2 separate regions of the Homo sapiens genome follow, and region 1 is linked to region 2. The links are contacts of gene promoters, found by promoter capture Hi-C in human tissues and cell types (Jung and others, 2019). All regions are on one chromosome and are shown on one strand. The core of a region is centred on a gene start or on the middle of the fragment in contact, and the rest is flanking DNA. Distances in the headings are between cores, read along the strand shown.

The links. The method cuts DNA at HindIII sites, captures the fragments that hold promoters and counts their contacts. A contact is called where the count stands out against the background at its distance.
Region 1: a fragment that was not itself captured here is called in contact with the fragment with the promoter of LHFPL3 in region 2 in 1 of the 25 tissues and cell types used here (mesendoderm cells).

What each region holds. Positions count from the first base shown.
Region 1 is chr7:104,813,046-104,818,117 of GRCh38, reverse strand. The region is part of intron 2 of LHFPL3 (LHFPL tetraspan subfamily member 3); the gene reads right to left. Among named protein-coding and RNA genes, the nearest start is that of LHFPL3-AS1, 11 kb to the right of the region's middle. The HindIII fragment of the contact is 3,492 bases long and covers 381-3,872 here.
Region 2 is chr7:104,326,880-104,332,049 of GRCh38, reverse strand. LHFPL3 (LHFPL tetraspan subfamily member 3) reads right to left here and starts at 3,447. Exons shown (of 3, transcript NM_199000.3): 1 at 2,826-3,447. The coding sequence starts at 3,270. The HindIII fragment of the contact is 20,464 bases long and covers 1-5,170 here.

The DNA of each region.
Region 1 (5,072 bases), core at 877-3,376, 490 kb before region 2:
TCAATAAATCCTTCCGATTCCTCTTACTTCTCTTGCTTGCTCTAAGTCAGCACTGCCCAAGAGCCCTTTGTGTGACGGAAATGTTCTGTATCTGTGCTGTCCAATACGGTAGACACTAGTCACGTGTACCTATGGAGCACTTGAAATGTAGCTAGTGCAACTACATTGGAAATGAATGGTACTTAATTTTAATTAACCTACAATTAAATAGCCAACAGAAGTCCTGGTGCTAGGTATCGGAATAGTGTTTGCCTAAAGACTTTATGATCAGTCAGCAATGGGAGGATTTCAAAAGACAGTTGATGATGTGGTATGAGGGAGGGACTGTGTGGAGAAGGAGGGTATCATGGTGTGGCCATGGGGGTTTGTATGGGATTAGAATCAGTGAAGTAGTACTGTCTGAGGGAGGAGGCTTCTGTGGTCCTGTACCTAGAATTGTCAATCGTCAAATCAGGAAAGGCCCCTGAGTTCCCAGGGATGTGAGGGCCTCAGGGCTCTATGATGAAGCATAGATGTTGTTTTTGTCCTCAGCTATCTACCAGTGTGAGAGAGATGAACAAAGTAAAGAGTATGCTATGGACCTAAACACAATCAAATAAGCGTTTAGGAGACTTGCAAAAGGATGAATGCCAGAGACTGTATTGAAGGGGAAGGTTGTTTAAAGATGTGGTGTTTACATGAGAAAACTTCCCAATGAACAAGAAAACCCTGCTGTTTTCTGGGCTGGGTCAAGGCAGCAGTTTGAGAAGCTGAATTAGATGAGGAGAAAAAGGGAGGAGGCCCTTGTGGGCTGAATGAAATGGGGTGAGGTTGAAAAAAATCTGAGGTTGAGCCTTTGCTCAACACATAAATATTGACTGCCCAGCACTGGATAGGCACAATATGGGCACACAGGATACTGGACAGGGTTTGCCCTCAGGGAAATTATAACGAAGACTGGCAACGTAGCCCGCGCTGAGCAAAGATAAATAGCAATACCAAGGAATACTCCAATAAAGTGTGTAGATAGGCAGAGGCAGGGAGAGATCCTTGTGGGCTAGGAAGGCCAGGGTGTGTGGGATGGGCCTTGAAGAATTTGCCTGGGTGGAAAGAGGGGGAGAAGCAAAGAAGGTTTGCAGGGGAGCCCCAGAATGACTGGAAGAGCTAGCAGTTCAGAAGTTAAGGTGGTCACAGTCAGAAGTGTGTGCTTAACCCAGAGGATTATGGAAACCCAGAAGACACAAGGTTCATGAGGCAGGCTTGGAAAATGCATTTTCTTGACAAATACAATGGAGTTAAAGCAGCCCGAGGCTAGGAGGCCAGCAGGGAGGAGTTAAGTCAGGCAAGGTGAGATGGTTCCACACCTGGGCAAAGGCTGTTTAGACCTGAGCTCTTTGCCACGTTGAGTGGCCTGAAAATGAAACTGCTCAGCTCTGACAGCCACTGTGTGCCTTTGAAAGCAGGATCTGAAGTTCACTTTAAAAGTGAGTTGCTCCCAAACCACTGCAGAAATTTCAGATGGGGCTTAAGAGACTAAAGCCAACATCTCCTTTATGCAACTGCTGATAGTAATTGAAAGAAGGATTCTGAAACCATGGTTACCATAGAGGACTAAAATTAAGACCAAAGGTGAGGATTTAGAATCCAAGAAAATAGAATGGGTTCAAGGTAGAGCTCACACTTATGCTTTGTATAAACTATCTGATTATCTTTGGTAAATGCATCCTTTTATGAAGCAATCTCAGGAGCCAGCATAGTGGTTCTTGCATCCCTGAAGCTTAGTGCAGAGCCTCAAATCCTGGGTAGCAGGATGGAATCCTGCTAAGCTAAAAGGAAACTAGGTTTCTGTAATAGGTATGAGATTTTTAGATATGATTTTTACCTAGATTGATTCTTTTTGCCCCAAGTGGGCCTAATTATGGAAAAAGCTTGGAATCTACTGGCAAATGCTGTTGCTGTAAAACAACAACAACGACAGCATTTTTTTCACAGGGCGCAGTTCTTCAAGTTGTTCTTTTGGGATGGGATCTTCATCTTGAACTCATAATGAAGGTCAAGGCTGCTGCAGAGTGTCCTAGAATAGGTGACAGAAAGCACACAATGAGGCTAATTCTCATTGTGCCAAGGGGTGCTGGTCTATATGGAATGTGGTGGTCAGCTACAGGAAGGAGGGGTTTGGTCTGTCATTCTGAATGAGCAAAGCAGTTCCATGCATGAATCCCTCATTCTTCAAAGGGGAAAGGGGGAGGGACCTTGAGAATTCCTACCTTTGAGCTTCTTTGCCCTAGTACTCACACGAGGCAGTTCACAACTTTCCTGTGTCTCCCAATAAGCCATGTGTGCAGCCTGCCATGAGATGACCAGATCCAGAAGAGAATCCAGGGCATGAGACTCTACTGTGTGGGGTGGGGTGGTGGTAGGCACAGGGGAGATCTGGGCTGACTTAAAAGAAAGGGCTATCTGAGAGAGAAGTGGCATTTAGTTAGAACCTCTGAACGGAGGAGAAAAAGGTGGAACTGGAAGAATTCTTTGTCCCTTTGGGTAAATCATTGTAATGAAAAACTTAAAATGTACAGATTTAGGTTCCCCCATATCACTGCTCAAGTGGTCTTCTTATCTTTTTAAGAATTTGATTTTTGAAATAAGACACACATTCAGAAGAGTGCACAAAATACAAAGGCACAGTTTAACACAGAATTATAAAGTGAGCACTGTGTAACCGCCAGCCAGCTCAAGAAATAGGACATTGCCAGTATCCTGGAAACCCCACATGTCCCTCCCCAGCCATATGCCCTTCTCCTGCTGGGGGTAATCACTATTCACTGACTTGATGGCAGCAGCAGGCCGTCTGGAGCTGCCCCTGCCATCATGCCGGCTGCAGCAGGGAGGCGGGGTGGGGGCTGTTCGCTCCATGGAGCCAGCAAGAGCTGGGACAAGTGGGAGCCCCACCCCTTCTAAGTTGGGGTGGGAGCTCCCTGGGTGGCTCTGTAGCTGTGGAAGCCATGGCTATGGACCCATGCATCCTCGTGCTCTCGGGGTTGGGGGGCAGGCGGGAGTCCCACTTTCCTGGGCATAGCTGCAGCCACCCAAACCATGGCTGCAGACCTGGGCCTCCTGCTCCATAGAGCAGGTGGGAGCCCAGGCGCAGCTGCAGCTGCCCCAAACTGCAGCTATGGACCCAGGCATCCCTGCACTACTGGGGGTCTGGGAAGGCACCCCTGCCCTTGCAGGCTTGAAAGTGCCTGCTCCCGCCGCCTGGTTTCTCCCTGCTGTCGGCACCTGCTCTGATCTCAGAGTAAAGTCAGGACCCAGCCCGGCCACTGCCGCAGCCCAGTCGAGCGTGCACACACTTGGGGCAGTGCTGACACGCCAGCACCCTGCTGCATCTGCCCCCTCTGGAATTTGGGCACTGACGAGCATAGGAGGAAAGCTGAGGGTGAGATGAGGGAAGCTTGGTGCTGACCTATAGGTGCCGCTTGGCACCTATAGCCTGGATGTCATGAAAGGCAGAGGGAGGCAGACAGGTTCCTGGGTGGAACGGGGCAGGTCCCCAGTGAGGCCCCACCTTCAGGCCAGGGAGGACCTGAAGGCTGGGAGTCAGGCTGCCAGTTCCGTGGACCTGAGTAGAAACTTGTAGTGCCTTTTCTGGGTGGGACCAATCAGCATGCACTTCTTCCCCTTTGAGGCCCTTAAAAGCTCTGGGATCAGCCAGAGCTGAGCAGATGTCAGATGATCAGCTGCAAAGAGGAGCAACCCACTCCAGGGCCTCCTCTCTGCTCAGAGCTGCAGAGACGATGGAGAGATGATAGGGAGATGATGAGTCGACCAGGTGCAGAGAGGAGCCACCCACTCTAGGGCTTCCTCCACTGCTGAGAGCTGTGCAGATGATGGGACAACCAGCTGCAGAGAGGAGCTACCCTCTCTGCTGATAGCTGAACACTTGTTGGGATGACTTGCCTAGCAGAGAGGAGCTACCCTCTGCTAGGAGCCGAACACTTATCAGGACACCATGGCTGTGGAAAGGAGCTGCTCCCTGCAGGCATCCTCTGAGCTGTTCTATTGCTCAGTAAAGCTCCTCTTCATCTTGCTCACCCTCCACTTGTCTGCATACCTCATTCTTTCTGGTTGCAGGACAAGAACTTGGGACCCACTGAATGGTGAGGCTAAAAGAGCTGTAACACAAACAGGGCTGAGACATGCCTCTTGCTTCCTATGTTGCGGGTGAAGAGAAGGAAAGAAGAGCTGTGGTCCTTTGGGGAACCCAAACCTGGGAGCTCCCCAAGTCAGGGCTATGACTCCTTCTTTGAGGCCCTGCAATTCCTGGCATCTCCAAGCTTTCAGGCACCACCGTGTTCTCTGATGCCAGCTGTGGAAGCTGCTTGTGGGTTTCTCCTCTTTGCAGCTGATCATCTGACATCTGCTGGTCTGGCCACAGCCTCATAGAAAGCTGGCACCTGTGCTGGAACCTGGAGTTGCCCTCCCTGCTGCAGCAGCCAGCATGTCTGACTGTGCACAGTGGCTGGACCCTACACTCACTCACACACCTCTCGCCATTCCATGCCTGACTCACCCTTAGCAGGCATGGGACCCAGGCTAGTAGCATGAACCCAGCACAGCCTGCCAGGCCAAGTGGGTGAAACAAGCCCAGTGGGCACAAGCAAAACTCAGGCAAAGGTGCCACTAGCCACAGAGTTTTCCGACCAGAAAAATGGTACCCCAAAGATCCCATAACACTTTTATGACCATCACTTCCCTGGCTTTCTTTTTGAGGTTACCAGCTATTTACATGACCCAACAATATGCTAAGTTCAATTTTTGATCTTAGAGTAATACTGTACGTATTCTTTATTTTTACTTTTTTGGGACAGGATCTCACTCTGTTTCCCAGGCCGGAGTGCAGTGGTGCCATCATGTCTCACTGCAGCCTTGACCTTCTGGGCTCAAGTGATCCTCCCACCTCAGCCTCCCCAGTAGCTGGCACCACAGTTGTGCACTCTCACACCCATCTAATTTTTTTTTCTCCCCGAGATGAAGTCTTGCTCTGTTGCCTAGCCTGGAGTGCAGTGGCATGATCTCGGCTCACTGCAACCTCC
Region 2 (5,170 bases), core at 2,198-4,697:
GATTAGCCTAGGTACTGGTAAACAAATAGGTAGGAGAAGACTACTTAACATTAAAGAGGAATAGTCTAAAGTCTAAACTTTCTTTTTCTTTTTTTTTTTTGAGATGGGGTCTCGCTCTGTTTCCCAGACTAGAGTGCACTGGTGCAATCTCGGCTCACTGCAGCTTCCGCCTCCCAAGCTCAAGAGATTCTCCTGCCTCAGCCTCCCAAGTAGCTGGGATTACAGGCACCCACCACCACGCCTGGCTAATTTTTGTATTTTTAGTAGAGATGGAGTTTCACCATGTTGGCCAGGCTGGTTTTGAACTCCTGACCTCAAATGATCCACCTACCTCAGCCTCCCAAAGTGCTGAGATTACAGGCATGAGCCACTGCGCCCGGCCTAGACTAAACTTTCAAAGTAACTTACAATAGTTTATATTAAATTTTTTGTTAGTATAATGAGACTTAATTTTTTTAGAAAAATCCTGAAAACCATGTTAAATGTAACATTGTTTAGAAATATCTTCTATGTTATTCCTTAAAAATCTGTGAATGAGTGACAGATCCTTATTTGACCTGTCATCAGAATCAATTTTTCTTTTATTAATATACTTCACTAATGAACAAAATCATGTACTATAGTTTACCTAGAAATAAAATGCCAAATAATTGCAAATAAAGGTTTTAAAAAGTATGTCACTTAAGGATCCGGACTTCTCCAAAATGAAGTAAATGTCCTTACATCTTTAGTACAAAAACTATCCCCACATTTTACATGACGTGGAAAACAGGATAAACATTGATGTCAAATGCCTGAGAACAACATTATATTTCACTGCTCCAGGACAGACAATTTTTCTGTGCTCTATTCCAGAAAGAGAAAAGGAGAAAAACGAAACAAAACAAAAAAACCTTGTAATGGTTGCAGTTTGTATTAACTTCAAAGCTGGTATTTCTTTCTCAAAGATCATTTTCTTTTTGTCTTTCAAAAAGCGGGGGGTTAGAGTAGGAAACCTCATAAAAATCAAACATTGAAGAATACGTTGTTGAGAAAGCACCTGCAAAGTATTTTCAGACCTTTTAAAAACGATGTAATTTGAATCACCTGTCTAAATAGGTCATTTAACTTAGAAAAATTAAAATTAGCTGTGCAGGGTCAATTCTTTTTCTACAGCATCTGCATGTGTGTGTCCTCTTCAAAGTCAAACCAGAGCTAAGTGTCAAGAACAGCCATAATACATGAATTTATTCCAAATCTTAGTTATTCTGCTTGAAATGGCCATAAAAGTTAACTTTATATATAAAAACATAGAGTGAGGAATTGCTAGAAAAAGTTGGGGATGGGGGTGCAGAAGGAGACGCAGAACTCCCCGTTCAGGAGATAATGGTATGTGTAAAGGAGGGAGTCTCTACTGCTGCTCATTTCTTGCTTTTCACATACACACTTTTACAATATATGGCAAATCAATATCAGGCGAGCCAAAACACAAAATAAATACTTTCACACAAGTGTAGTCTCCCACAAGCTTCTCTTTCCTTATCAAACTAGCAATATAGGACTATGAACCTTAACGCTATTGTCCAGCACCTTTAAGTATCTACTCATCCTACAACACTCTGTCAGGGATTGAATCCCTCTCCCCAGAAAACCTTCCCAGGAATAGAATAAACGACAAAATCTTGAAACATCTTAAAAATGAGAACAGTAAAAGAAAACGCAAATGAAAACTTTAGCTGCCTAAGATATTCAGTGCCCTTCTACAACCAGACCATCCATAAAATCAAAAGGACCTCAACAATGTTGGAACAGAAATGTGTCACGACCACTGGACCCTTGACTTTAGAAGGGAGGGCATCCAAGCTGGCTGGCAGAGAGGCAATCGCCATCAGGGGAAGTACAGCAAGGAGTCAGTTTTGTTTCAGGACTCTTCAAAGTCACCAGGAAATGTACCCCATCCTTTCTGGGTTAAAAGTAACTTTGATGCACAGAAAAAAAGTACTTTCATATCCTCCAGCTAGCAACAATTTATCATCCACAGGGAAAGAGTGATCGGAGATGCTAATGAAACATTCTCCTCTCTGCCTACTTCCCCAAAGCCACTTCCCAAAAATGAGATCTTGAGGAATCTTGATTTACTAAAGACTTCTGTTTAAAGATGAAATGGAAGGAACTTTGCACGGACAAGGAGGCAAACTGAAGACTTGACATTGAGGAATTGCGAAAGAATGTTCTAAGCTACATTCTTCTTACAAGGGGAAACCCAAAACAGAATTAAGATCTCTTCACCTCCGGATGGAGGAGTAAACATATTTAACTGCCCGGGATGGAAAGAAACAGTATCACTCCAGCCACCGCCCCCCGCCCCCTTTCCCAGGATCAATGACAGAAATAGTCCCAGCAGCGAGGGGCAGGGCAGGCTGGCTGCTCCTTCCACTATGACCTCTCCAAATCCGCTTTTCACTTCGCCCTGTCAGTCCCTCCTTAGTCCCTCAGCACGGAACCCCGGCCCCATCTCTCTAAGCGGCCACTTCTCCACCCACCATCCTTAGTTCTGAGCGGACTCGGCCCCACAACCGCCCTGCCTCCGGGGCGTCCCTCTGAGTGGGCGTCCCCCACACTTGGGAGGCTCACGAAAGCCCCGGGACGAGGCGCCAGCGCCGGGGCTGGGGAACCCCGGGGGTTCCGGCCTCGCTGGGCTCCCGCCCCCCACACCTCGACGCCTGAGCGGATTAGGCGGCTTGGCTCGCAGCGGCGCGCACAGCCCCCGTCCCTCCCACTCTGGCCCCTCCCCGGCTCGGGCGCCCCGGGGTCCTCCGCCTCCGCGGAGGTGAGCGCGCACTCACCGGAGGTGAGCTGCATCCAGGCACATATCTTGTACACAGTGGCCGTGTTGCAGAAGAAGAAGAGGGTAAAGCAAATGATGCAGGCAATGATGAGCATCATGGAGAGGCCGATAAAGAAGGAGGCGGCTTTGAAGGCGCCCGAGGGCAGCGTGGAGAAGTCCGTGAAGCTGCCCCTGCAGGTCAGCTCCCGGGAGAAGCCGTTGCCGATGCAGTAGTGGAAGAGCCCGAAATAGCCGGCTTGCGGGGTGTCCACGCCGTCGCCTATCCAGTAGGGCTGGATGAAGCACACCACGTTGACGATGGCAAAGCAGATGGTGAAGATGGCCCACAGCACGCCGATGGCCCGCGAGTTCCGCACATAGTTGGTGTGGTACAGCTTGGCAGCCTCCTGAGCCGGGAGCATCGCGGCGGCGGCGGCGGCGGCAGCGGCGGCGGCTCCGGGCATTCTCCCCCTCCTCCTCCTCCTCCTCCTCCTCCTGGTCCTCCGCCTCCCCCCGCCTCTCAGCGCGCAGGAGACACACTCACGGAGCCTCGCGCGCTGCAACTCCCCTGCCTCCGCCTCAGCCCAGCAGCACCAGTTTCAGAGTCTGCATCCTCGCTCCCGGAAGGAGGGCGGGGGAGCGCGGAGCACCCCTCCGGCTCGCCTGGCACAGCCTCCCGGCTCCCCTCCCTCCCTCCTGGCCCGGGCTCCGGCCCTCCTCACCACCCTCCACCCCTCTTCCCGCCGCCGCCGCTGCAGCTGCTGCAGCTGAAGGCGGCAAATCCCTCGTGGAGCACCGCGGCGCGCAAGCCCGGGGCGCCTCCCGCTCTGCTTCCCGCCTCCCTCCCCGCTGCCCGGCCCGCGCTGCCAGTGCCCAGGGGCGCAGAGGACAGTGACGACCCCGGAACGCCCATCAAGGGGTGGACATGAGCCAGAGAAGTGGGCCTGGATTAGGAGGGCGAGGGTAGTCTAAGAAGGTGGCAGGAGCACCCACAGGGATCCTAGAGACAACCCCAGGATCCTGGTGGGTGTGAGAGGCCGGGCTCGAGAGGCTGATTCAGCGAGCATTTCATCACCGCACAGAAACGTGCTTCGACCTCTGCATCTTTGCAGAGGCACGAGGGGCAGCGCGGCAATTGCAGGCAAGAGGCGCCAAGGCAGTGGAGGCATACAGCCCCCAAGAGTCTTTCTTGTTACCACAGAACTGCCCCTGGCTAACTCCTCGGTTGCCTTCAGGTCCACAGGTGGAGATAGAAGTTGCGCAGGAGCCTGGCAGACAATAATGTAAAAGACAAATCTCAAGGGTGGTCTCACATCAAGCACAGCTGAGCTTGCGTCCTCTTTGCGTTTTTCCCCCAAGCAGCCAGCTGAACTGTAGCCAATGGATGCCCCATACTTTCCTTTAGGTCGTTTCCCCGATAATTCCTTCCATAGATTGGGCCTGTGTGTGCTTGGAAGGGACTGTGTCACAGAATTTTATAGTTTGTTTGAAAACAGGGTAGTTCGGCCAGTGTTACACTTACTATACAAATATTGACAGCTACTCTGTGCCCAGACGCTGAGCTGGGTGGTAAGGGTACAAAAAGACATAGCAGATGGTTAATTGTCCAGGAACTTCCATCTCCCCCTACAACCCAAAGCTAACCAGAGAGCTGTTTTCAGGCTAATTTATCCCGGAATTACCACTATAGAATTCCTTACATTTTCACATGGCATTGCTGTTGTACACCTGCCCTTCGTGCTGTTTCCTTAGCTTATGTTTTCCCTTTTAACAGTCTTTCTGTTGCTCTTTTAACAGTTTCTACTTTTCAAACTGCATTTCCCTATTTCCGTTGGTTTTTTTGTTTGTTTCCTTCTGATTCTGATATAAAGAAACATGTAACTGCCTCCCACCCCCAGCCATGAAACCAGAATGCTTAATTGTAGGAGTGGATTTTGGTAACAAATCGTTTTGAACCATATGATCACAGAATTTTCTGAGCATTTCTATCAGAGAGAATTCTGATAGAATTGGACCCTAAGTCTTACCTAATTGGCTATATCAACGGCTATTCTATGGTAGAAGGGTCATAACCTAAGTGATGAAAATTATGCTTTTCATTTGATAGTCTGAAGATTTGAGATTCTATGAAGAGGGAGGGGGAGAAAGTGGAATAGGGGTGTGAGACACATAAGATAATGAAGGGGCTGCTGCTGAAACTGGGGAAAGCATCTAAAAGCATGAGTTTTCAGAATCTTCCATTCAGTTTTTTCTATAGGCATGTAATTCATGTATTGTAATACATGTCCATCAGACAAGGTCCATCTTATACAAGGTCCATTGTAATACAAGGTCCATCAGACAGAGCTTTGAAAATCAAGAGAA